Regions from separate parts of the Homo sapiens genome. Here all the other regions are linked to region 4. The links are contacts of gene promoters, found by promoter capture Hi-C in blood cells and fetal thymus (Javierre and others, 2016). All regions are on one chromosome and are shown on one strand. Each heading gives the region's core, a stretch centred on a gene start or on the middle of the fragment in contact. The rest is flanking DNA. Distances are from core to core; before and after follow the strand shown.

Region 1 (3,270 bases), core at 647-3,146, 520 kb before region 4:
CTAAAAATACAAAAATTAGCTGGGCCTGGTGGTGTGCACCTGTAATCCCAGCCACTTGGGAGGCTGAGCATGAAGATCACCTGAACCTGGGAGGCAGAGGTTGTGGTGAGCTGTGATATCACACCACTACATTCCCTGCACTCCAGCCTGGGCACCAGAGCAAGATACCCTGTCTCAAAAAAAAAAAAAAAAAAAGGCAAAAAAGCACAAGAATGATACCCAAGACAGTGCTAATAGTGGGAGTTCCTTTGGGGAGGAGGGAGGTAGAAGGTTCCTGGTCAAAGGTGACACAGCTCTGTAGTGCTTTAATTTTTTAATAAAGAGACTATATCCCTCTATTATTTGTGTACTTAAAATCACAAATAATTTTAAAATGCAATGCACATACCATGTGTATGGGGGAATGAGGGCAAGAGGAAGGGATTCTGAAGGAGGTGGTGTGGGGTAGAGCTTTTATATCAGACAAGCCTGTATTCCAGTCCTGACCTTGACAATTACCTGCCAGTGACTTCAGGCAAGTCACCTTACTCTCTGAGTCTCAGCCTCCTCATTTGAGAAGTCAGGATGACAATGTCTGCCTTCCAGGGCTCTTGTGTGGATATGGAGTAGGCCGTAGAATTCTTGGCACATAGTAGGTGCTCAGCGTATCAATCATAGCCATTATTGTTATTTCAAATTTCAGCCAAAAATAATCACTTGAGCTCTTAGTAGGTGACAGTTGGATTAAGGACATTGGGACTGTATCTGGTTCAATCAGGGATGACTTCCTGGGGGAGGAGGGGCTTGAGCTACTTAAATATATGTGGGAAGTGGGGCAGCATTGAGTTAGAGAGAGGGCTGTGTGCAGAGGCCAGGGAGGGATTATGCCTGTGTGCCTATTATTAGTAATGATATTACTTATTTCCATATTATAGACAAAGAGGGAGAGTCCAAGTAACTTGTCCACAGACACATAGCTAGTAAGTGTAGGGTGTTCACATGGAAGGGATGGGCAGAGGAAGAGAAATGGGAAAATGCAGGAAACTGGGATAGTTCTGTGGGAGGAGAAGGGAGAAAAAGAATGGGCTTTGTAATCAGAAAGGCTCCTGAAGAGAGGGATGTGGGGGATTTAACAGGCCAGCCATTGCCCTTTACTTAAAAAAAAAAATGCCCAGGGGAGATGTAGGACCTTAAGGTCTTACCTTTGCAAGACGCTCTTGACAGAGGCCACTGGCTCTCCATCTCCCTTGGGCCCAAGCAGAAAGGATTGGGGCCCCTCCCCACAGGAAGGGGTGCTAGGCTGACTAGTCCTAGGAGGCTGGGCGTCTTTTCCCCAGGAACCCTCCAAGAACTGGGTGGGTTGAGAGCTGGCTGGCAGTACTGTGCCAAATGAAGTCGCTGCATGCCCTGTAACCTGGCAATTCCGCTTCTTAGGTTTTCAGGCCGAGCCGTAACGGTTCCTGTCAAGGACGGTCATGGCAGGGTTGCTGGGGTGTTGGAGGGAACTTGGGTGCCTGTCGCCCTCAGAGTGGGTAAATAAATGTGGAAGGTGCCCACCAGAAACTAAATGTGCTCACAGCAACATGAATGAGGTTTAAAAATACAGTGCTGAGCGAAAACAATTAAGAAATATATCTATAATGTGTGTGTGTGTTTTTTATATATATATATATATATATATATATATATATTACTAATTGTGAAACTAAAAAATACATGCACTTGTTTTGCAAGGACACATACAAATGGTTGGCTATGGGTTAGGATGAGGAATGAGAATAAAAATGAGATAAATGCAGAGTGTGGTGAAATCCAGTTCCTCTGCAGGTGGAAAGGGTGGCCAAGCGGTCAACCCACATTTCTGTGCACATTGTGCCATCTAGTGGGCAAAGGGGCGTTCAGCTGCCCTGGTCCTGGAGCTGGTGCAACTATGGCACCATGACATCCTGGGCAGGTGCTGCCTCAGCTGGGCCCCCAGAGCAGAGGTGAGAGGTGAGTGCTGCCTGTCAAGTGGGGGCCAGGCACAGCCTGCTGTAGGCCTGGCCAGTGGGGCTGGTAGCCATTTCTGTTGCAGCAGGGAGGAGGGTTCAGACAGGCCTGCCTGCCTCCAGGAGCTGTCTGATGTCAGGGCTGGCTCTTCACCGCCTGCTATGGCAGGCAGGCAGGTGGTTCCTGAGAAGGGAGTGGCTGAGACTCTGATGCCAGATTTTCACATGTAGCCCTCCCTTCTGGCAGGAAAGAGAGCATCTGGCAGGATCATTGTGAAAGCAAAGAGGAGAGAGGAGAGCAGGTAGAGACACTCAGAGTCTAGAGAGAGCAATGACTACCTTGAGGTGGAGTACGGAGGACAGACCCTGGCACCAGACTGCCAGGGTTCACATCCCTTGGGCAAGTCCCCTGTGCATCAGTTTCCCCTCCTTGGAATGTAATAGTACGTACCTTGTAGGGTTGAAGTGAGTCAAAATAAGGCACTTAAAACAGGTCCCCTTTCCGGGTCAGGGCTGTGTAAGTGTTGTCCACTCTCAGTATCTGAGGTTCACCCAACTCCTGTAAAGCCAGCACCCTGCTCTCATCCTTCATGAGAGTCATGGGGCATGAACAGAATGCCCTGGGCTGATGGGGGTCACTGCAGCAGGGCCTGGGGCTATAGGCTAGGAAGGGACTCCAGCCATGGACCCAGGCCAAACTGTGGAGGGAGGTGGGGTGAAGCAGGGCGGGGCCTGGGGCTGGGGACACTGCATTCTTTTTTTGTTTTTTGAGACGGAGTTTCGCTCTCGTCACCCAGATTGGAGTGCAATGGCGCCATCTCGGGTTCAAGCGATTCTCCTGCCTCAGCCTCCCAAGTAGCTGGGATTACGGGCTCCTCCCACCACGCCCAGCTAATTTTTTGTATTTTTAGTAGAGACAGGGTTTCACCATGCTGGCCAGGCTGGTCTCGAACTCCTGACCTCAGGTGATCCGCCAACCTTGGCCTCCCAAAGTACTGGGATTTTACAGGCATGAGCCACCACGCCCAGCTGGACACCCCATTCTTGGGGTCTGTAAAAATACTTTCTTGGCCGGGTGTGGTAGCTCATTCCTGTAATCCTAGCACTTTGGGAGGCTAAGGAGGGTGGGTCACCTGAGATCAGGAGTTCGAGACCAGCTGGCCAACATGGTGAAAACCTGTCTCTACTAAAAATACAAAAATTAGCTGGGTGTGGTGGCACACGCCTGTAGTTTCAGCTACTCAGGAGGCTGAGGCAGGAAAATCGCTTGAACTCGGGAGGCAGAGGTTGCAGTGAGCCAAGA
Region 2 (3,550 bases), core at 659-3,158, 940 kb after region 4:
AAAATACCTTCAAAATTTCTTTCTGTTCTCTGAGTTAAAACGGAACTAAAGAAAACAACAGTGTGCGAGCAAGAAAAGAATACCTAGAATCAAGAAATATGAAAGCTGTACTGAAATGAGTCTGCAGAGATGGATAAGTGCATATTCAAAGTCTTTGGCCACATAAGATGGCAGCTTCAGACATTCTACCAATTAATTACAAGTGGCTTGTAAATCAACTACTTGAAATTAAAAGATTATCACCCCATTATGTCCTTGTTCTTGACCTGTTGCGTAAAAAGCTATCAATAAATATATGAAACAGCTCAGAGGGAGAGGAAAAAAAGGAGAATAGAAAACCTAGGGTGGCTTCAAATGATTAGCAATTGCTTAAGTGACAGATTAATTTGAATGGTAACAACATAGACTTTGAAGCTGGATTCGATGAAATGATAAAACGTGGTATCTGTAGTTGTCTAAAGAAGCACTATGGTATAACGGCTATAAACATGGCCTCTGGTGCCAAACTTCCTCATAATGCCAACTGATTCTTTCTTGTTGTGTGACTTACTAAGCAAGTCACTCTCTATGCCTCTGTCTTCCCATCTATGAAGCAAGCTTAATAATAATACCTACTTCACAGGACGATGTGATGATTGGATAAGTTAATGATGTAGAAATCACAGAATAACATCTGGCACAAAGTAAGTATTCACAGATATTAACCACAAACAACAATTTAAAAGATAATTTTAGGGTTTTATTTTAGGGGAAATGCTTTACCTGCAAGTAAGCGAGAAACTGGGAGGTGAATGCTAACTTTTTCTTGGGAAACACAGTATCTGATAGTTTCCACTGAATGTCCACAAATGCTTAGTGTGATTGGCTGTTCACCATCAGTATAACCACCATGACACTGCATCAGTACAGCGAGACATTTCTTGTAAGCTTCGATTAACACTTTTTCCTAAAAAAGAGGGTTTTTCTGTAAGTTACTCAAAAGGTTGAGTTTTTACAACATTGAATAAGCACCTTAAATTCAGTGAGTAAGTACCTCAAATAACAATATAGGCAAAACCAAACTCAATCCTCCCTCCCAAATTTGGTCCCTCTTCCAGTGTCCCTCATCTCAGTGAATGATACATTTACTCATATAGTGCAGAAATCTAGAAGTTATTCCAATACCCTCCTTTCCCCCATTCCCCATTGTCCAATCTATTACCAAGCTGGCAACTTCATCTTCTAAGTTTCTCTCAAAACTTGCTACTTTTCTCTATCTCTAGTAACTCCAAGGCATTGCCAAGCGTCTCTCTATTAAATTCCTGCTTTGACTCTTGCCCCCTTCATCCATTCTCCATACAGAGCAATTTTAAAAAACATGTAAATTGAATCATGTCACTGTATGGAAAATGGATAAAGGGGGCAAGAGTTGAAGCAGGGAATTTAATAGAGAGATGGTAATCTCTAAAGGCTTCCCACTTCAATTCAAATAAAATGCAGGCTGAGTGTGGTGGCTCACGCTGGTAATTCCAAGACTTTGGGAGGCCGAGGCAAGCAGATCGCTTGAGCCCAGGAATTCAAGACCAGCCTGGGTAACACGGCGAAGCCCTGTCTCTACAAAAAATAGAAAAATTAGCCAGGTGTGGTGGTGTGTGCCTGTTGTCCCAGCTACTTGGGAGGCTGAGGTGGGAGGATCACCTAAGCCCAGGGAGGTTGAGGCTGCAGTGAGCCGGGATTGCACCACTGCACTCTGGCCTGGGCAACAGAGTAAGCTGTGTCTCAAAAAAAAAAAAAACAAAAAAAAAAACAACCATGGCCAAGGCCCCGAAAAATCACTCCTGTGCCCAAATCTCTGTTCTCTACTTCTGTGCTCCAACCACAGACCTTTCTATAGCTCCTAGGACTACCCTAGTCCCTGTCATCACAGACTATAATGCAGCTGTCTTCTCAGTCAGGAATATCATTTACTCATTGTTCCATTAACTTTTACAGATTGTTCAGACCTTACAGAAACCTCCCTAACCTCATAATGTATACAGGCTCTCATCTAGACTTTATCGCCAAAGGAAGGCCAAAATAATTTTAAGACACAGGACAAATGTACCAATAATAAAACTTTATTTTTGAATAAATTTAGAAACTACCATTTTTATATCCTCAAAGTCTAGAAGGGATTATGGAAAAAAAACAAAGATAGTTACATTAGGGAAGAGACAATCTGGATTATTTCTTTCTCTATTTTTCAAGTTTTTCCTCAGGCTGTAGAATTTTAAAATTTTACTGAGTTTATAGGTGGAGAAGGAAAATACGCTGTTTAATGAACTAAGTATCACCACTATTTTCTCCAGATCTCCTTGAAATTTACTTAGGATTCTGCTTATTCCTCCCTCTTCCACTTTCCTCCTATTCCCCGCACCCAGAAGAAACTCACATCTGAAGCACACCAGTCCTGCATCATTGAAATGACATGTGTTAATTTCATTTGTAGTGTGAAGGCTGCTTCCCACTCTGGTTCCATTTCAATATGTTGTCCTACTTGACGTGTAATTGGATCCATTCCCTTAACGGAAGTGAAAAAATTATATATGAATGAAAATAATAGTTGTTCTTTTATATGGAAACCTAAGAAGTAATGTAGGAGAAATATATATTGATTATAAAAACATAGAAGGTATAAGTTTTAACAGGAAACTTCAAGTACTATGAGAAATAATAGCTTTTAAAATTATGTGTTTATATAACATTCTCTAAAATATAAATTTAGAAATCCCAATAAACACATTATTTCAGAGGTATCATCTAAGATCTGTTTTAGGCAATAAAATACTTCAATATTTCACTGCAATAATCCTTCCTTTTTAGCTCTATGGTCTATAGAAAAAATTGTTAAAAGAAATGTGACAAGCTTTTAAAATGTTATTGAATTTATAACTGTATTTTATAATAAAGTTTTAATATTATGTCCTAATATGCAATTAGAAGTTTTCACAGAGCCTGAAAGAAGGCAAAACAATAAATAGCTTTTAATTAAAATTACTGTTCAGAAACTAGCCTAACTATTCTAGTATGTCAGAACTTATTAAACAATAGAGAATACAGAATACTTCAAGTATCAAAAATGACCAAAGTAGCTATTGTTTTCACAGATACATGAAAAACATAGTAGTATTATAATAAACACCCATGAACTACCACCCAACCTAGGAACTAGAATGGTAAGTCAGGCCAGACATGGTGGCCCACGCCTGTAATCCCAGCACTTTGGGAGGCCGAGGCGGGTGGATCACTTGAGGTCAGGAATTCAAGACCAGCCTGGCCAACATGGCGAAACCCTGTCTCTACTAACAATACAAAAATGAGCTAGGTGTGGTGGCGTGCACCTGTAATCCCAGCTACTCGGGAGGCTGAGGCAGAAGAATTGCTTGAACCTGGGAGGCAGAGGTTGCAGTGAGCCAAGATCGCGCCACTGCACTCCCGCCTGGGCGATAGAGCAAACCTCCACCTCCAAAATAAATAAATAAATAAAAATAAATTCAAACAAATAAAAATAAAAATGGTAAGTCAACTTTGG
Region 3 (3,282 bases), core at 527-3,026, 830 kb after region 4:
GCCGAGATCGCGCCATTGCACTCCAGCCTGGGCAACAACAGCATAACTCCGTCTCAAAAAAAAAAAAAAAAAACAAAATAAAACAAAAAAGCAAAAACAGAAGCCTCACCTAATCTGCCCATAAAACAAGACTAGTGAAAACGATGACTATGCACAAGAGTAAGCACCATTGTTTTTCGGCACCCCCTTTTCCATCGGGTGCACGCAGGCACGCGGACACACAAGCCTCTCCCCTGCCCCCGCGCCCCGCCTGCGCGGGGAATCTGCCACACGGTATGAACTGTGCTCTCAGCGGAGAAATACTCTGGCCCAGCAATTTATGTGTGTTTTGTTTGTTTTAAGTGGGAAGGAAAGGAAGAGAGTGGGGCGTGAAAATGGGAGATCAGTTTTAACTCAGATTTAATTCAATGGTTCGCGTTTCCTCCCATCTTTCTCTGCATCAAAATGCAGGTAGATCGGTGAAATTTCAAGTTTCTTGGGTCGTTAAATACCCCAATTTAAACGATGGAGGCTGGGAACTGGGGATATAAGGAGGAAACCTAGGGTTGGAAGGGCGGGCAGGGTTAAAGAGGTTCGGGAGCTCCGCAGATCTGAGCGAAGCATGCGAGGCTGCCGCGCCCGGGCAGCGGCTGCGTCTCGGGTTCTCGCCCTGCCCGCTGCCTCGGGTTTTTGCCAGTGACTGCGCCGTCTTGGCTGCCCACCCACACCTCGGGTTGGTCCCGACTTTAGGCTAGGCCATTCACTTCCGGTGACAAATCCCTCCCACCACCCCTAGAAATAATGTACCGCTTCTCCCACCGCTTTCCTAAGACCGACCGCCCCAGAGAGCCACGGAGCCCGGGGCTAGGGTCTCACCCCAGCGCGGCCGGCGACGCCCAGCTGCGGAGGGAGTGGCCGGGACCGAGCTCGGGGAGGGCAGGGAAGAAAGAGGAAGGGGGTGTGGATCTCACCTTCCCCCGCCCCCACCCCTCCGACTGCAGCAATTGGCCAAAAAAATAGTAATCCTTTTATGGACTCCCCCAGGGCCCCTCGAACCAGGTTGCAGTGAGGAACCCAGTCTCTCCCATCGCAGTGCCCCTTGCCTTCTCCTGCCCTAGTAACTGCCTGCGGGGATCCAGGAGCCCCCAGGCCGCGCCGAACTGCAGTGGATAGGGGGGAGGGGGGCGGTAAGGATGAGGGCTACGGGGAGGCAGAAATGGGTTGGGGGAAGGGGTGGTGGAAGGGAAAAGAAAAAACCGGAGGCATGCAAGCGGCTCCCCAGCCAGCTGTTCCAGCTGCTGCTTCCTCCGGCGCGGGCCAGGCGGTGCAATATTCCCCCCCGCTCCATCTTTCTCACCACTACCTGTCCCCCCAACCCACCACACGCACTCATCCCTCCCACCCACACCCCTAGTAGCGGATCTCCGGCCTGTAAGGGGGTAGTAGGGAGGAGCTGGGGGGAGGGGGAGGCCTGCGAGTTTCTAACCTTGTTCTTATAAACAAACCCACATGTGCAGCTGCCGCTGCTGCAACTCACCCCACAATCCCGGATATAAGTCCTGCCCCTTTAAGAGGAAAAAAAAGATTCCCCCGCCTGCCTCCCACCCCACCCATCCACAAGAACCTTTGTCTTCCCACCCCCATAGTCAGTCGGCCCCGCCCCATCTCCCCGCCCCCTCCGACGCAGAGGAACCAATAGGCGAAGAAAATAAGGCCGGGGATCTGACATCATCATGTTAGGCCAATCACCGGACGCGTTGGTGGGAGGCCTCACGGACAGCGCGCCCGGAGGAAGGAAGACAAGAGAGAGGAAGCTTGAAGCCAATATGGAGTCCGTCAGTTGCTCCGCTGCTGCTGTCAGGACCGGAGACATGGAGTCCCAGCGGGACCTGAGCCTGGTGCCTGAGCGGCTTCAGAGACGCGAACAAGAACGGCAGCTGGAAGTTGAAAGGCGGAAACAAAAGCGGCAGAACCAGGAGGTAGAGAAGGAGAACAGCCACTTTTTCGTCGCCACCTTTGTTCGGGAGCGAGCGGCCGTGGAAGAGCTTCTGGAGCGCGCGGAGTCGGTCGAGCGGCTGGAGGAGGCGGCCTCTCGGCTCCAGGGGCTGCAGAAACTAATCAACGACTCAGTTTTTTTCCTAGCCGCTTACGACCTGCGGCAGGGACAAGAGGCGCTGGCGCGGCTGCAGGCGGCCTTGGCCGAGCGGCGCCGGGGGCTGCAGCCCAAGAAGCGTTTCGCTTTCAAGACCCGGGGAAAGGATGCTGCTTCGTCTACCAAAGTAGACGCGGCTCCTGGCATCCCCCCGGCAGTTGAAAGCATACAGGACTCCCCGCTGCCCAAGAAGGCGGAAGGAGACCTCGGCCCCAGCTGGGTCTGCGGTTTCTCCAACCTGGAGTCCCAAGTCTTGGAGAAGAGAGCCAGCGAGTTGCACCAGCGCGACGTTCTTTTGACCGAACTGAGCAACTGCACGGTCAGACTGTATGGAAATCCCAACACCCTGCGGCTAACCAAGGCCCACAGCTGCAAGCTGCTCTGCGGTCCGGTGTCTACCTCTGTTTTCCTGGAGGACTGCAGTGACTGCGTGCTGGCAGTGGCCTGCCAACAGCTCCGCATACACAGTACGAAAGACACCCGCATCTTCCTGCAGGTGACCAGCAGGGCCATCGTGGAGGACTGCAGTGGGATCCAGTTCGCCCCTTACACCTGGAGCTACCCGGAGATCGACAAGGACTTCGAGAGCTCTGGTTTAGATAGGAGCAAAAATAACTGGAACGATGTTGACGATTTTAACTGGCTGGCCCGGGATATGGCCTCCCCAAACTGGAGTATTCTTCCTGAAGAGGAGCGAAATATCCAGTGGGACTAAGCAGTTGTCACTCTGTTCTTCACTCCTACCAAATACTTTCCACGTTGGACTTTCCCCCTTATTGGGTCTCGAAGTTTACTTATTGTCACACTGTGTATGTTTTCAGCATTTTAAGGCTAGAGATTGTAATGGGCTCCTACTTGTAATTTCCATTAAATTCGTAACAGGTATAACACTAAAGCATTTTTGCTATTTTCGTCATGCCTTTGAGACTGAGTCTTACTCCGTCCCCCAGCGTGGTGGCGCGCTGGGATTACAGGCGCGCGCCACCACGCGAACTTGTATTTTTAGTAGAGACGGGGTTTCGCCATGTTGTCCGGGCTGCTCTCGAACTCCTGACCTCAGGTGATCCACCCGCTTCAGCTTCCCAAAGTGCTGGCATTACAGGCGTGAGCCACCACGCCAGGGCTTTATTTATTTATTTTTACCACAATAG
Region 4 (3,335 bases), core at 39-2,538:
TAGGAAGCAGTGATTTATGTTCAGCACACAATTTACTAAGCACACAATCACAAAAACAGACATGCAGACTTTAACAGATAATAAAGCTGTTGAGGTTTTCCGTTTATGTATTTACTGGAGAAAGCAAGAGCTTTATTTATTTATTTTTGAGACGGAGTTTCGCTCTGTCGCCCAGGCTGGAGTGCAAAGGCGCGATCTCGGCTCACTGAACCTCCGCCTCCCGGGTTCAAGCGATTCTCCCACCTCAGCCTCCCGAGTAGCTGGGATTACAGGCGCGCACCGCCACGCCTGTATAAAAATACTAAAAATGCAAACATAATTTTTGTATGTTTAGTAGAAACGGGGTTTCACCATGTTGGTGAGGCTGGTCTCGAACTCCTGACCTCAGGTGATCCGCCCGCCTCCGCCTCCCAAAGTGCTGGGATTACAGGCGTGAGCCACCGCGCCCGGCCAAGAGCTTTATAAAGATGGAAAATGAAGAAGACTTTCTGCCCAAGCCATGCTTTTGGATAAGGATTACACTACTTTGAAACCTTATACATAGCACTTGGCCAATTATCAAAACTGCACAAACCTTCACTGATTGCAATTATTCCCTTTAAACATCTCGAGTTACCCCAATCCGCACAAAACAAGTTTAGTGCCCACCAGGTAATAATACATCCAGGAAAGTAATTCCAAGAGAGAGGTTTAACAACTACAGGGAAAAACATACTTTTTTCTACAAGAAAAATCTTAGAAGACAGTACCAGGGCCTTATCCCTGTTAGCATGATTTATATTTCACGCAACCTTGGCCCAGTCACTGCTACATTATAAAACCAATAGCCAAGGCAACATAGAAAGTCTGAACACAGTGACAGCGAACGGTTCTAAATTTTCTTACCAAGGTAACAAACACCTGGCAAAACTGCCAGCAGCGGTTGCCGAAAATGCTGGGTTCGGTGCCTACTGGAAGGAAAATGGAAGGGCTCCTGAATATCTTTTCGCCTTTCTAGGAGCGGTCCAGTGAGTTTCGAGCGAGATTTATTCCCTGTGACGACGGAGAAACCGAGAAGGGATCGTAAAGGATCCTGCCCGGGCAACCGTCCCCAGCAGGGATCAGACGAGAGCGGCGCGCCCAGCAATGCAGCCGCCAGACTGAGGTCTGACAGCGCGCCCGCTGCGAAGGGCCGTTGACGCGGCTGCGCACCGCGGCCCTTCCGCCTCCCGCCCCGCCCACCTAGGCTCAACCTGCACACGGGAGCCGCCACTTCCGCGGGCGCGTGCGCAGTGGCGGGCCGGGCGCGTGCGCAGCGCCGGCTTCTTCCCAGCGCGAGTTGCTGCTAACGCTCCTCCTCCAGCTTCCCACCCCCGCCGCCCGCCGCGGCCCGGTACCAACGGGTGGTCTCGCCGAGGGAGCTGTCGTGCCTCGTGGTCCCGGGACTGCAGTGGTGTGCGCTCTCGGCGCGTGGCGCTAGGCATGGCGATGGATCAAGTAAACGCGCTGTGCGAGCAGCTGGTGAAAGCGGTGACGGTCATGATGGACCCCAACTCCACCCAGCGCTACCGGCTGGAAGCCCTCAAGGTAGCTGGGGTCCTGGCGTCCTGGGCCGGTCCCGACACCCTCTCCCAGCCCCAGCAGCTCCGGCGCCGCCTGTAACTGGGGTAGTCTCCCGCCCACGCGGCCCCTGGACCTCCTTTCCCAACTCCCCGGGACCTTCCCCTCGCGGCCCTCCGCGCCTCTCCCAAATCGCCGCCTTCTCTACTCGCCGCTCCTGTCCTTTGCCTGGGACACTCCGGTCCCTATGCTGCTTCTCATCTCGCCGCAGCTTCCCACAGCCCTCTCCTCCCCCTTTCCTCGCTTCTGTGCACTCTTGTCCGCAACATGACCCTCGCCCATTTTCATTCCCCAAGCCCGACATCCCCTCGCCTTCCCGAGGCGCACGTGTAGATCCCGCCCCCAACACCAGCTTCGTTCTTTATGGTCTCTCCTGCACTAAACGTTTTCCTGCTGGCCCACTCCCCTGGCCCTGACCGAGCTCCAGCCCCTCTGGTACCCTTATGCTTATATGCTTTAACATCTCGCTAACTTTCGTTTGTGTCTTGGACATTTTCCGGGGAAATTCTCGCACCCCTACTTCTCCCATGTTTTTGAGTGTAATATTTTTAGGCTATTTTGCGCAAAGATAACTTCTACCACTTACTTTGCATTTTAACAAGGGCACTTTGGTTTCCTGAAAGTAGTTTGCGTGAGACCCGAATGCTCTGCTCTTGGGACTGACTTATGTTGCAGTTTGGGGGTGTTAATACAATTCAAGCTTACTTGCCCATAAAACAACGTGTGTGGGCTGTGAGAAATGGCCATTTAGGAGAAAATACTTGTGCTGTACATTTTTAAAGTGATGTTAACTTCAAAAAAGAGAGTGACCACCACTTGGAGGAAATGTTACAATATGTAGATGTCTGCCACAGGGTTTGGAATCAGAAACAATTGGGTTCCATTAGTTTGGTTTTTATTATTAATATTTAAAATAGACACAAAAGTGGAGAGAATACGACAGTGATTCTGCATGTTCCTGTCACCTAAATTCAGCAATCAAAGATTTTACCGCATTTACTTTTTCCACCGCCTATCCTCTCTCCCTGCCTCGAAGGTTTTTAAAAGAAACCCTAGAAATTGTTATTTCACCCCTATGTACGTCAGGGGGATGTCTCTAACAAATAATTTCTTATTCCTTTGTGTCCATTTTTTTCCAACACTAGTAGGGCTACTGTTGGCCGTAGCATGGAAAAAATCTGGAACCATCACGCTGGAAGGAATGTTTATCAGTTCTTTATTCATAATATATATATAATATATACACATAAAATAGAGTGAACACCACTTGGAGGAAATGTTATATATGTGTAACTTTTATATATTTTATATTTTTATTTTTATATTAAATATATATTTTTAAAGCAACTGTGCTTGGAGATCCACATAATATTGATCTAGGTTTTGCAACTTTAAACATATAGCTTAGGTTGGAGTTTCTTTTTGAGTAGGGTCTCACTCTGGTTGTCCAGGCTGGCGTGCAGTGGTGAGATCTCGGCTCACTTCAGCCTTGATTTCTCGAGCTCAAGTGATTCTCCTACCACTTCAGCCTCCTGAGTAGCTGGGATTACAGGCACCTGCCACCATGCCCGGCTAATTTAAAAAAATATTTTTAGTGGGCCGGGCACAGTGGCTCACGCCTGTAATCCCAGCACTTTGGGAGGCCAAGGCAGGTGGGTCACCTGAGGTCAGGAGTTCAAGACCAGCCTGGTCAACATGATGAAACCTTGTTTCTACTAAAAATACAAAAATTAGCT
Region 5 (3,554 bases), core at 83-2,582, 540 kb before region 4:
GCAGTTGCACCACTACATTCCAGCATGGGTGACAGAGCAAGACTTGTCTCAAGGAAAGAAAAAAAAGTATGGAGTGTCTAGGTATTCCTGGGGAGGAGTGGATTCCCCTGCCCCACCCTAACATTCTTATTAAATAAAATCTTATCTGAGGTGGTTTGAACTTGTGCATAGCAAAGCTGTGTGTAAATACTACAGTGTAGAGGCTTTTCTCGGCAGACCTCTTGAATGGGCACCTCTGCTGCCAAACGTTTGGGTGGAAAAACAGGTGTGTTTTGCAGCTGGCTACAGGCCTTTCTGAAGCATGCTCTGAAGTGATGTTCAGGTGTTTCAGGGCACTGGCAGCCTCCATATTTGTTAGTGCTAGGGAGCAACAGGGTTGAGATTCTGAAAACTGGAGTCACAAGTCTTGGGTTGGTGTTTGCTCTTTTAGCTAACTCTTCAAGTTGGTTTCCCAAAGCCCACTTTCAGCTGTAGTATGGTGTAGGTCAGTTTTCCATGTTACAGTGTTTGGGAGACTGACCCAAATAAAGACTTTGGTCTTTGACTTGGCAAGAGCAGCCTTTGGCTTTGCTTTGCTGGCCTTGAGCTGTACAGGTGTTCTGGCCTTTACATTTGGGGGAAAGGTGATGTAGTGATAGACAACTTGGGTGGCTGCTTAGATAATTTACTTTCTTTTAGGGAGTTAAAGTGCTGGTTTCAGAAGGCATATGAATATCAAAAAGGGCAATAGTGTGCAGTTTTTCCTCTATGGAGGACTCGAGAAGAAGTCCCTGGCTGGGTTTATAACCAAGGGCTCATATTTTCCTCCTGCCTGTGGAAGTGATATAATAAGGAAGGCATTCTCCGTGCTGTTGTATTTTTTTATAGCAGAAGCTGTTGTGGGCCATTCTCCCTCTCCAACCCCAGAGTTAGAATGTGAATCAGCAAAATCGGAGCTACAGCTCTGTCTAATCATCTGTGTATCCTTTAACCACTAAGATTTATATTTTGTGACTAATGATCTTGTGCTGGAAGTGCCATCTCCCACACAAGTCCCCAAAGAAAACTGGCTTTAAGGGCTCTGACTTAGAAACCAATTTTTCCCCCTCTCGTTTTTCCTGCAGGATCTATCTTGGGATCCCATGGCTTTCTTTACTGGGCTCTGGGGCCCCTTCACCTGTGTAAGCAGAGTGCTGAGCCATCACTGTTTCAGGTAACTTTTCCCATTAAGTTCTTAAAACTGTGTCTTTGTGTAAGCTTCCTATCAGGGCTGGGTATTACGGTGACTAGAACAGGAGTAAAAACTCAGGGAGGTGGGCATGGGGTTGGGGAAAGCTAAAGTGATCAGGCTGAGCTGGCCTGGTTGGTCTGGTCACAGGATGGGGGATAGGTAAAGAGGTGATGTTGCTGTTAGAAGTGTGATGGGGAATGGCATATGGCGGAAGCTTTTACTCTTCAGTCCTTGCAAGACTCTTACAGTGAATCTGACATCTCTCAACCCTATCATTCCCCTAGAGCATTAAAATCCTTTTAAAAACGGAATTTTTTTAATTACAAAAATAATACATGCTTATTACCAAGAACTTGAGCATGATAGAAGTGTGACACCCTCCCCTCCTTGTAGATGCTAAGCCAGGAGAGCACAGGAGGCACGCTTGTTGGCAGACATGCCTCCTGGCCCCGTCATGCCCTCATCCCACAGGCATTTCCTGAGCACCGCACCTGGGGTTGGCCATACAGAGATGAAAGAGAGTTGCTTTCTGTCCTGAAAGAATTCTCACTGTCAGCCACAGGAGCAAACTTGAAAATAAGTAACTCTAAGAAAATGTGATAGAATATTATAATAGAGGATTGTACAGTGCTTTGGAAGGCGTCATATAGGAGCTGCTAGTGGAGGAAGAGGAGGAGAAAGAGTGGAGGCAGTCTTCTCAAAAGGGAGATGGGGGCAGATCCTGTCTAGGCCTCCAGGGAGAATTGGGAGGCAGGGTGTGCTTGGGGAAGTGGTTCCTGGTTCTCCTGCCCAGAGTGGTAGGATGTGTAGCCTTAGAAGGTAGGTAAATTGGGACAAGGTTGTTGACAGTGTAGATGGTGGGGAGTAGCATCACTTTTATATTCTAAAGAGAGCTCTTTGTTGGCAAAGTGAAGTGCAATGGGAACCAACTAGGACACTAATGTCACAGTCTTGGTGTAGGAGAGTGAGCTGCTAAATGAAGGAAGTTGTTGGCGGGATTGGAGAGAAAGGACATAGGTGCTTAGGGGGTGATATTAACAGGACTTGGTGGCCAGTTCATGTTGGTGGAGAGAGGTTTATGGCTTGGCTTCTGGTACTGCTGGAGAAGCCATCGTCTAGATAAGTGTAGCAGCAGGCGGAGGTTTGCAAGGGGAGGCAGTGAGATGAGTTTGGGACCTACTGAGTTTGCAGTATCTATAGAGCATGTTGTAGGGAGTTGAGGAGAGTGGAAATATATAGAACTAGAATATAGAAGAGAGGCGGGGCTGGAGATGGAATTTACTAGTTGGCAGCAATGCTAATGGGTAAGATTGCCCAGAGTAGGCATAAAAAACGAGAGAAGAGGTCCTAGGATTACCCTGCGGAAACACCAGCATCAGGTGCTAGCATCAGGAAAATAGGAATCCCACTGTAATCAGCTTGCTTAATAATACCTTGTCTGCCTTCAATAAGTACTCTCTAAAATTTTTTTTTCTAATGAGAAAAAATGTATTAAAACAGAAGATTGTTACCTTGACTTATTACCAGTTTCTGGTATGTTGTGTCAGAGAATTCCCTTAGTAAACTTACCCATATCTTCTAGTTCCCAGCAACATGTAAATAAGAAAATTAGGGGACCGGGCGCGGTGGCTCACGCCTGTAATCTCAGCCCTTTGGGAGGCCGAGGCGGGCGGATCATGAGGTCAGGAGATCGAGACCATCCTGGCTAACACGGTGAAACCCTGTCTCTACTAAAAAATACAAAAAATTAGCTGGGCATGGCAGCAGGCGCATGTATTCCTAGCTACTTGGGAGGCTGAGGCAGGAGAATGGTGTGAACCCGGGAGGTGGAGCTTGCAGTGAGCTGAGATGGCGCCACCGCACTCTAGCCTGGGCGACAGAGCGAGACTCCGTCTCAAAAAAAAAGAAAATTAGGGAATGGTGTATTCTGGGGAAGCAGGTTTTTCAGGATAGGCAGTGGGTGAGGCCTAGCCCATAAGGGATTCCTTTAAGTCCTTAGAGTCCTTTTGGAAAGCAAAGGCTTTAAGTTATGGCTGCTGTGAAGTTCATTGTCACAGAAAAATTGGGTTCTCTTTAAAACCCATCCAAATTGAGACCTTGACACAACAGCAGAAGCTCTCAATTGTGAGGAAACTGTTGTGGGTACAGATAAGTCTTCACAAAGTCCTGACTTTCTGTTGCTGCTCCTGGACAGCACTCTGCTCTGTGTGTGTTGCTGACATGTACATTCTCCCTAGCCTTGACCTCTCAGAGGCCTGTGCACCCTGACCATAAGAGATACAGACTGCAGACTTTTTTTTTTCCTCCCACCAGCACCACTGGGAGTCTGAGTGCGATTCAGAAG
Region 6 (3,264 bases), core at 716-3,215, 550 kb after region 4:
CCTCAGTAGCTGGGACTAAGGCACGCACCACCAAGTCCAGCTGATTATTGTATTTTTAATAAGGACGAGTTTCACCATGTTGGCCCAGATGGTCTTGATCTCCTGACCTTGTGATCCGCCCACCTCGGCCTCCCAAAGTGCTGGGATTACAGGCATGAGCCACACCTGGACTTAAATTTTATTTATTTTGAAAAAAGGTCTTGCTCTGTTGCCCAGGCTGGAGTGCAGTGGCCTAATCACTGCTCACTGCAGCCTCGACCTCCTGGGCTCAAACTATCCTCATGCCTCAGCCTCCTCAGTGGCTGGGAATACAGACGTGGGCCACCACCCTGGCTAAATTTTTTTATTTTTAGTAGAAAAGCGGGTCTCATTATGTTTACCAGGCTGGTCTTGAACTCCTGGGCTCAAGCGATCCTCCTGCTTCAGTCTCCCCTGGTGCTGGGATTACAGGTGTGATCCACCACACCCGGCCAGGATAGGAGTGTTTGACTACTTTATTCACAACTATCTCCAGCAGCTAGAACTGTGCCTTAACAAAAAGCCTGCAGCATTTGCTGGGCACAGTAATCCTGTAATCCTTGGGAGGCTGAGGCGGGTGGATCACTTGAGCCCAGGAACTGGAGACCAGCCCTGGCACCTGGTAACATGATGAGACCTGGCTGGGCGAGGTGGCTCACGCCTGTAATCCCAGCACTTTGGGAGGCCGAGGCGGGCGGATCACGAGGTCAGGAGATAGAGACCATCCTGGCTAACACGGTGAAACCCCATCTCTACTAAAAATACAAAAAATTAGCCGGGCGTGGTGGCGGGCGCCTGTAGTCCCACTACTCGGGAGGCTGAGGCAGGAGAATGGCGTAAACACGGGAGGCGGAGCTTGCAGTGAGCTGAGATCGCGCTACTGCACTCCAGCATGGGCAACAGAGCGAGACGCCGTCAAAAAAAAAAAAAAAAAAAAGGTGAGACCTTGTTTCTACATTAAATAAATAAATAAATAAATAAACAAACCCATCCGTGCAGGCGTGGTGACGCGCCTGCAGTCCCAGCTACTCGAAAGGCTGAGGTAGGAGGATCTCTTGGGCCCGGGAGTTCGAGGCCGCAGTGAGCCGTCATGGTGCAACTACACTCCAGCCTGGGCTACAGGGCGAGACTTTGTCTCAAAAAAATAAAAAATATAAAAAATTTAAAAAACAGGCTGGGCGCAGTGGCTCACGCCTGGAATCCCAGCACTTTGGGAGGCTGAGGCGGGCGGATCACGAGGTCAGGAGATCGAGACCATCCTGGCTAACAAGGTGAGACCCCGTCTCTACTAAAAATACAAAAAATTAGCCGGGCGTGGTGGCGGGCGCCTGTAGTCCCAGCTGCTCTGGAGGCTGAGGCAGCAGAATGGCGTGAACCCGGGAGGCGGAGCTTGCCGACATCGCGCCACTGCACTCCAGCCTTGGCGACAGAGAGAGACTCCGTCTCAAAAAAAAAAAATTAAAAAAACAAAGTCTACGGAATCTGCTGAATTCTGATCTACTAAGCCTTCAGCAGCCATGCATGCCTTTTCCTGCCTCCATGCTATTGCACATACGTTCCCCATCGCCGAAAACCCTCATCCTGCCGTGAAGAAACTTCTCAGGATGTCCTAATCCCGGAAGCATCTACTCTCACCCCCCACTTTCCACTGCACTGGGGGCACCCCTAGTGTAGCGTCTGCCTCTTAGAGAACTTGGCAGTCTTACCGGCACCGTCTCTGCAGGCTCAGGGCCCCGCCTGGGAATCTCCTTCCCCTCCCCAGCCCGCCCTGCCCCATGCCCTCACCCCTCAATAGGTCGCGGGCCACGGCCGCGGGCTCCAGGCCCCCGCCGTCCTCCTCGCGGTCCCGGGCCCCGCGGGGACGTCGGGCCCCGGCCCCGGCCCCGGCCCCGGCGCGGTAGTTAGCTCCCGGCATCAGCTGGCAGTAGCGCTCGGAAGACGAATGGCGCCGCTTCCGCTCACGGCAGCCCCTGCCCCGCCTCTTCCGGCGTTCCCGGTCTCAACGTGGTGACGAATGGGCAGAAAACTGCGCGGTCGAGGGCCAGGGAGCCGGGCCCAAAGGATAACCCGCTCTGGAGACATTGTCGCAACCTTCTGCCCGAGTCGCAGGGTGCTGGGTTCCACGCCCGAGAAGCTTGGACCAGGCCTTGGTGGCATTTGGTTTCCTAATACCCTTGGCTGAGAAGCCAGAACCTCAGGGTGCTTGTCCTCGGCACCCTGCCCCCACTGCAAACTCCAGCCTTCTCCACCATATTCCACAAAAACACACAACACGTTTGGAGATTTTAATTAATTTTTATAAAATCTGAGCTGGCTGAACTTCAGAGTACAGCGACAGCTCAAGGAAGGGTGGGATTTATCTGCTGGTCCCCACCTCCCCAAGACGGGGAGAAGGAGGTCTCATGCCAACAGCTGCAACTCCTTTCAGCTCCCAGTCAAGGCTCAAGGCTCAAGCAGAGGGGAGGGGATAGGCAAAGGGGGAGGGGGAAGCTCCTGAGGCTCAGACACTGCTTGCTTCTCCCTTCTCCCCATTCCCTTCCCTTCCCAGCAGAACCTGGCTGGCCCTGGGCAGAGCTGAGGCCCAGGAGCAGCTGAAAGGAGGTGGATGGGGACAGAGCACCAAGGGGAAGGGGCCCTCGGCCCAAGGGGGGAGGAACCTAGCCCCCACCCCGCTACAGCTCCCCACTGAATTCACAGCACAGAGAACACCTCTCGCCCAACAACTCCACATGGAGGTATACCAAGTCCAGGGGTCAAAGGAGCAGGTGGGTGACAGATGGGCAGGGGCAGTGAAGATGACAGCAGGCTCAGGAGGGGAGGTGGCAGAAACTTCCTCCTACCCATGGGAGGAGACGATGGGGCGACTGATATTGCTGTTGGTGGTCATGGCATTCAGCTCCCACCTGGAAGGCCAACAATAAGAGACAGAAAGAAGAGGGGGCCCTCAGCCCAAGCTAAGGGATGTTTGAACCAAGCTAAAAACACACCAGTCTCTCCAACTTCCTAAAGGTCAACCACCCACAGCCACCTCTTACTTAAGAGACCTACTAGGTTGAACAATCAGAACCCACCCACCACCAAATCCAACACCACCCACTCCTCTACCTCCAAGCTCATATGGATTTCCGGTTTATGTTTATGTATGTATGTATATTGCAGTGTCCAGGCACCTGAGATCTGTGTATACATGTCAGTCAACATCCCAACCTGCCTTTCCTGCTTTGCTTAGAGCCAACCAGGCAGCCC
Region 7 (3,111 bases), core at 1-2,500, 560 kb before region 4:
AGAGGGTGGAGCAGTCAGCTGGGCTTGCCCCCATCCCCTTCATGGCCCAGTAGGGTGGGCGTGGGGAGGGGGCAGTGAGGACAGATCACCAGGCTGCCTGGGTGGATGGAAGCTCTGGCCTCTGGAGATAAGGGCCTAGGGAGGGGAGAGTTGAGTCACATGGATTTACCTTCACTGGCTCTCTGGCTATGACCCCACCCTGGGTCTGGGGAACTCAGTCTAGATGCCAGGCCTGGACTGGGGAGGCTGGTTTCATTAAGCTGGAAGGTATCTGTGATTTTCTAACATCTATCTAAATCCCCCCTGCCGCCGCCACCCCCACACTCTCATTCTCTCTGTCTTAGGGCAGGGGGCGGAGCTGAGCCTGGGAAGACAGGGAGGGGTCTTAGGCCTGAGGACTCAAGGGTAAGATGAGGGGTCTCCACGTCAGGGGAGAATGGGTCAGGAGCCAGCTGCCTCATCCTGATCTTTTCTTTCTATGCCTATTAGAAAAAATGGCATGATTTCATTTGGTTAGAGTTTTGAACTCAATATAACTGGCTTAGGTTCGACGATGGGTCAGAGTAGGAAGTCAAGTAAATAGTAGGACTTCTGGGTTTGAGTTACCTGCCTGGCCCCAGCCACTCCTGCTTATTCTCATTTCTCTTCCCCATACCATAGTCCTCTCTCCAGTTATTTGCACAGGGATCGCCTGAGTGTTATGAGCACTACAACTCCCAGAGTGCCATGCTCCTGCCTCTGAAGCAGGGAAGGCTGGGAAAGCTATGCCCTACGGCAAGCTTTTCCACTGGCAAAGGAGGGGGGAGTGGGTGGGGGCCTCTTAGCCTGCCTGGGCAGCCAGGGTGCTGCCTGGTTGCCTGCAACTGGCCGGCTGCATTGATGCTCAGAGTGGATGGGGTGGGCAGGAGGAGAAAAGGGACAGCCAGCCTGAGTGCCTGGGTTCTCAAAGTGCTTGGGGACAGAGCAGAGTGGGGCCCTGGGGAGGATCCCAGGATAGCGGAGAAGTGTGGCCTCAACAGATGCAGCACTGCCCCACCCATTTTACTGGGGGGTCCCTGGGGGACCCTTCTGCTGACAACACTGAAGCTCTGCCTCGGGGGCGGGCTGTGGAGCAGGGGAGGAGGTCCTCAGGGAAGAAAAAGGAAAACCAAAGAGAACAACAAAACTAGAAACAGTGACTGCAACTTCGGGAGCAGCATCCCTTAGCCCCCAGGGGGACTCAGAGGGTTTCTCCTGCCTCTTCCTAACACTTCAACCACAGGGCAAGAGGCAGAAGCCCTCAGATGGAGGGGAGGATGGAGTTGTTTATGTGTTTCACTTGGTCCCAGGGAGTCTCTGCAAAGCCTGGATTAGGAAGACTAAAGGAGTGTGTGCTGGTGTGTTATGCCTCTTCCTTTTCCAGTCCAAGCTGCCTTTAAAAACACACTAATTTAGTAATTGTATTGGGTACCATTTGTCCAGTGCCCTCAGTTTCAAGAATAATATATTACATGATTTCATTTAATCCTCGACGATCCTGAATTGAGTGTCACTGACATTTTAGGGTGGGGGCACAGGGCCTCAGAGGTTAAGTAACTTTCCCAAGGTCACACTGCTAATAAAATGAGGGACCTAGGACTCAAACCTAGCTCACCTTCTTTCTAAAGCTAGAATGATTTTCAGGGCACCACGGTGCTTTTCTGATGTTCCTAGAACAGGACTCGGCAGACCATGGAAGCTTTATAAATGCTCATTAAATGTTCTCAGGCCAGAGAACCTGTGGGTGCTGTGGAAATGTGTGTGTCCAGGTATGTAAATGTGTGTTGATGTGTGGACCTGTGTCCAGGAGGAGCTAGGTGACTGCATGGCAGTCCACGGAAATGAAGGGAGTTGTTGGCTTCGAAGTGGGGGTGTGAACATGGGTGTGTCTGGGAGCCCGGGTATGTAAACATAAGATGCACAGAACCCTGGGGCACTATGGGAGGTTAAAGGTAGGTATAGGTATCTTGGGTTGGGGGGACTCTAACTAGTCCCCCTTTCTCAATTCTCAACTCCAATGTACTCCAGCAATCTCAACACTCTATTCCCACCCCTTGCCTGTTTCTCTCTCTGAATTCCAAGGCTCCATCAGATCAGAATGAAATGAGAACAAGCCCCAGAGTACCATTCCTATCAACTCCTGTCTTCTCCACACCAAAGAAAGGTAGAGCATTTTGGAAGCTTCTACATGAAGTGGCCCCAGCAGGGTGGACAGGATCTAGCTAGATGGTTAGTAACTGAAATCACCATGCTCCTCTGCTGTCCGCCTCCTTGGGGTCACAAAGTACTCTCCCCTCCACAACAGCATTAATCTTCCCACCTGCATGGGAGGAAGGCAGGGCACACTCAGATCACTATCCCCATTTTACAGGGAGGAAGCAGGAACCCAGTAGGGGAAGCAACTTGCACAGTGACAGGACAGGTAAGGGGTGGAGCCTGGGCTGGCAGCTCTGCCAGTTGACAGGGCTGCTCCAAGCTTTTAATTGTGGGGGTGGGGTTGCTGGGTTGAGTTTCATCAAGGGCAGCTGCTCTCAAAGCCAGCACTGGGCTGAGCAACTGAGAAGAGGGAAGACATTGAGGCAGAATACCTTGGGGATGGGAGGTGGCAGTTCTTCCACTCCACGAGGTGCCTGCACCAGCTATATCCCAGTTTCTCTAGTCTGATATTGAGGTTTTGGTTGAGGTGTGTCCAGAGAGTGATGGAGCATTTTACTTCTAGCTAACTTTTTAATTTTACCATTAAGGAGTGTGTGCATGGTGGGGGTTGGAGAGCTATAACTTATAAGCTTTTTTTTGGGGGGGTTGTTGTGTATTTTTTTGAGACGGAGTCTCGCTCTGTCACCAGAGTGGAGTGCAGTGGCGCGATCTTGGCTCACTGCAACCTCTGCCTCCTGGGTTCAAGGGATTCTCCTGCCTCAGCCTCCTGAGTAGCTGGGACTACAGACACATGCCACCACGCCCAGCTAATTTTTGTATTTTCAGTAGAGACAGGGTTTCACCATGTTGGCCAGGATGGTCTCGATCTCTTGACCTCATGATCTGCCCACCTCGGCCTCCCAAAGTGCTGGGATTACAGGAGTGATATAAGCTTTT

The links. The method cuts DNA at HindIII sites, captures the fragments that hold promoters and counts their contacts. A CHiCAGO score of 5 or more calls a contact.
Region 1: a contact is called between a fragment that was not itself captured here and the fragment with the promoter of XPO5 in region 4, in 1 of 17 cell types (erythroblasts). The highest score is 5.1, in erythroblasts.
Region 2: a contact is called between a fragment that was not itself captured here and the fragment with the promoter of XPO5 in region 4, in 1 of 17 cell types (M2 macrophages). The highest score is 6.5, in M2 macrophages.
Region 3: a contact is called between the fragment with the promoter of TBCC here and the fragment with the promoter of XPO5 in region 4, in 2 of 17 cell types (naive B cells and fetal thymus). The highest score is 6.6, in naive B cells.
Region 5: a fragment that was not itself captured here is called in contact with the fragment with the promoter of XPO5 in region 4 in 1 of 17 cell types (M1 macrophages); the score reaches 5.1 in M1 macrophages.
Region 6: a contact is called between the fragment with the promoter of RRP36 here and the fragment with the promoter of XPO5 in region 4, in 3 of 17 cell types (erythroblasts, megakaryocytes and M2 macrophages). The highest score is 5.6, in erythroblasts.
Region 7: a fragment that was not itself captured here is called in contact with the fragment with the promoter of XPO5 in region 4 in 1 of 17 cell types (erythroblasts); the score reaches 5.2 in erythroblasts.

The regions. Positions count from the first base shown.
Region 1 is chr6:44,095,485-44,098,754 of GRCh38, reverse strand. No RefSeq gene overlaps it. Among named protein-coding and RNA genes, the nearest start is that of SCIRT, 22 kb to the right of the region's middle. RefSeq lists silencers at 1,762-1,931, 1,709-2,003. The HindIII fragment of the contact is 6,139 bases long and covers 1-3,270 here.
Region 2 is chr6:42,634,407-42,637,956 of GRCh38, reverse strand. It overlaps UBR2 (ubiquitin protein ligase E3 component n-recognin 2), which reads right to left. Exons shown (of 47, transcript NM_001363705.2): 14 at 2,411-2,539; 15 at 763-946. Among named protein-coding and RNA genes, the nearest start is that of UBR2, 72 kb to the right of the region's middle. The HindIII fragment of the contact is 1,957 bases long and covers 930-2,886 here.
Region 3 is chr6:42,744,597-42,747,878 of GRCh38, reverse strand. TBCC (tubulin folding cofactor C) reads left to right here and starts at 1,776. Exons shown (of 1, transcript NM_003192.3): 1 at 1,776-3,282. The coding sequence starts at 1,806. The coding sequence ends at 2,846. It also overlaps a transcript of BICRAL not described here. RefSeq lists enhancers at 284-333, 720-1,683, 1,748-1,957, 1,988-2,067, 2,128-2,287 and a silencer at 718-777. The HindIII fragment of the contact is 2,174 bases long and covers 1-1,795 here.
Region 4 is chr6:43,573,991-43,577,325 of GRCh38, reverse strand. XPO5 (exportin 5) reads left to right here and starts at 1,288. Exons shown (of 32, transcript NM_020750.3): 1 at 1,288-1,566. The coding sequence starts at 1,462. POLH (DNA polymerase eta) reads right to left here and starts at 1,141. Exons shown (of 11, transcript NM_006502.3): 1 at 886-1,141. RefSeq lists an enhancer at 872-1,121 and a silencer at 1,142-1,341. The HindIII fragment of the contact is 3,950 bases long and covers 1-2,301 here.
Region 5 is chr6:44,114,179-44,117,732 of GRCh38, reverse strand. MRPL14 (mitochondrial ribosomal protein L14) reads left to right here. Exons shown (of 3, transcript NM_032111.4): 2 at 1,104-1,192; 3 at 3,524-3,554. The coding sequence starts at 1,122. Among named protein-coding and RNA genes, the nearest start is that of MRPL14, 11 kb to the left of the region's middle. RefSeq lists an enhancer at 358-527. The HindIII fragment of the contact is 188 bases long and covers 1,239-1,426 here.
Region 6 is chr6:43,020,324-43,023,587 of GRCh38, reverse strand. It overlaps RRP36 (ribosomal RNA processing 36), which reads right to left and starts at 1,965. Exons shown (of 7, transcript NM_033112.4): 1 at 1,804-1,965. The coding sequence starts at 1,933. It overlaps KLHDC3 (kelch domain containing 3), which reads right to left. Exons shown (of 11, transcript NM_057161.4): 11 at 2,294-2,921. The coding sequence ends at 2,855. RefSeq lists enhancers at 950-1,681, 2,064-2,113, 2,174-2,283, 1,682-2,413 and silencers at 1,764-1,833, 1,844-1,893, 1,904-1,973. The HindIII fragment of the contact is 2,407 bases long and covers 1-2,154 here.
Region 7 is chr6:44,131,444-44,134,554 of GRCh38, reverse strand. The region is part of intron 1 of TMEM63B (transmembrane protein 63B); the gene reads right to left. Among named protein-coding and RNA genes, the nearest start is that of TMEM63B, 5.4 kb to the right of the region's middle. RefSeq lists enhancers at 1-424, 833-1,002, 425-1,390. The HindIII fragment of the contact is 938 bases long and covers 782-1,719 here.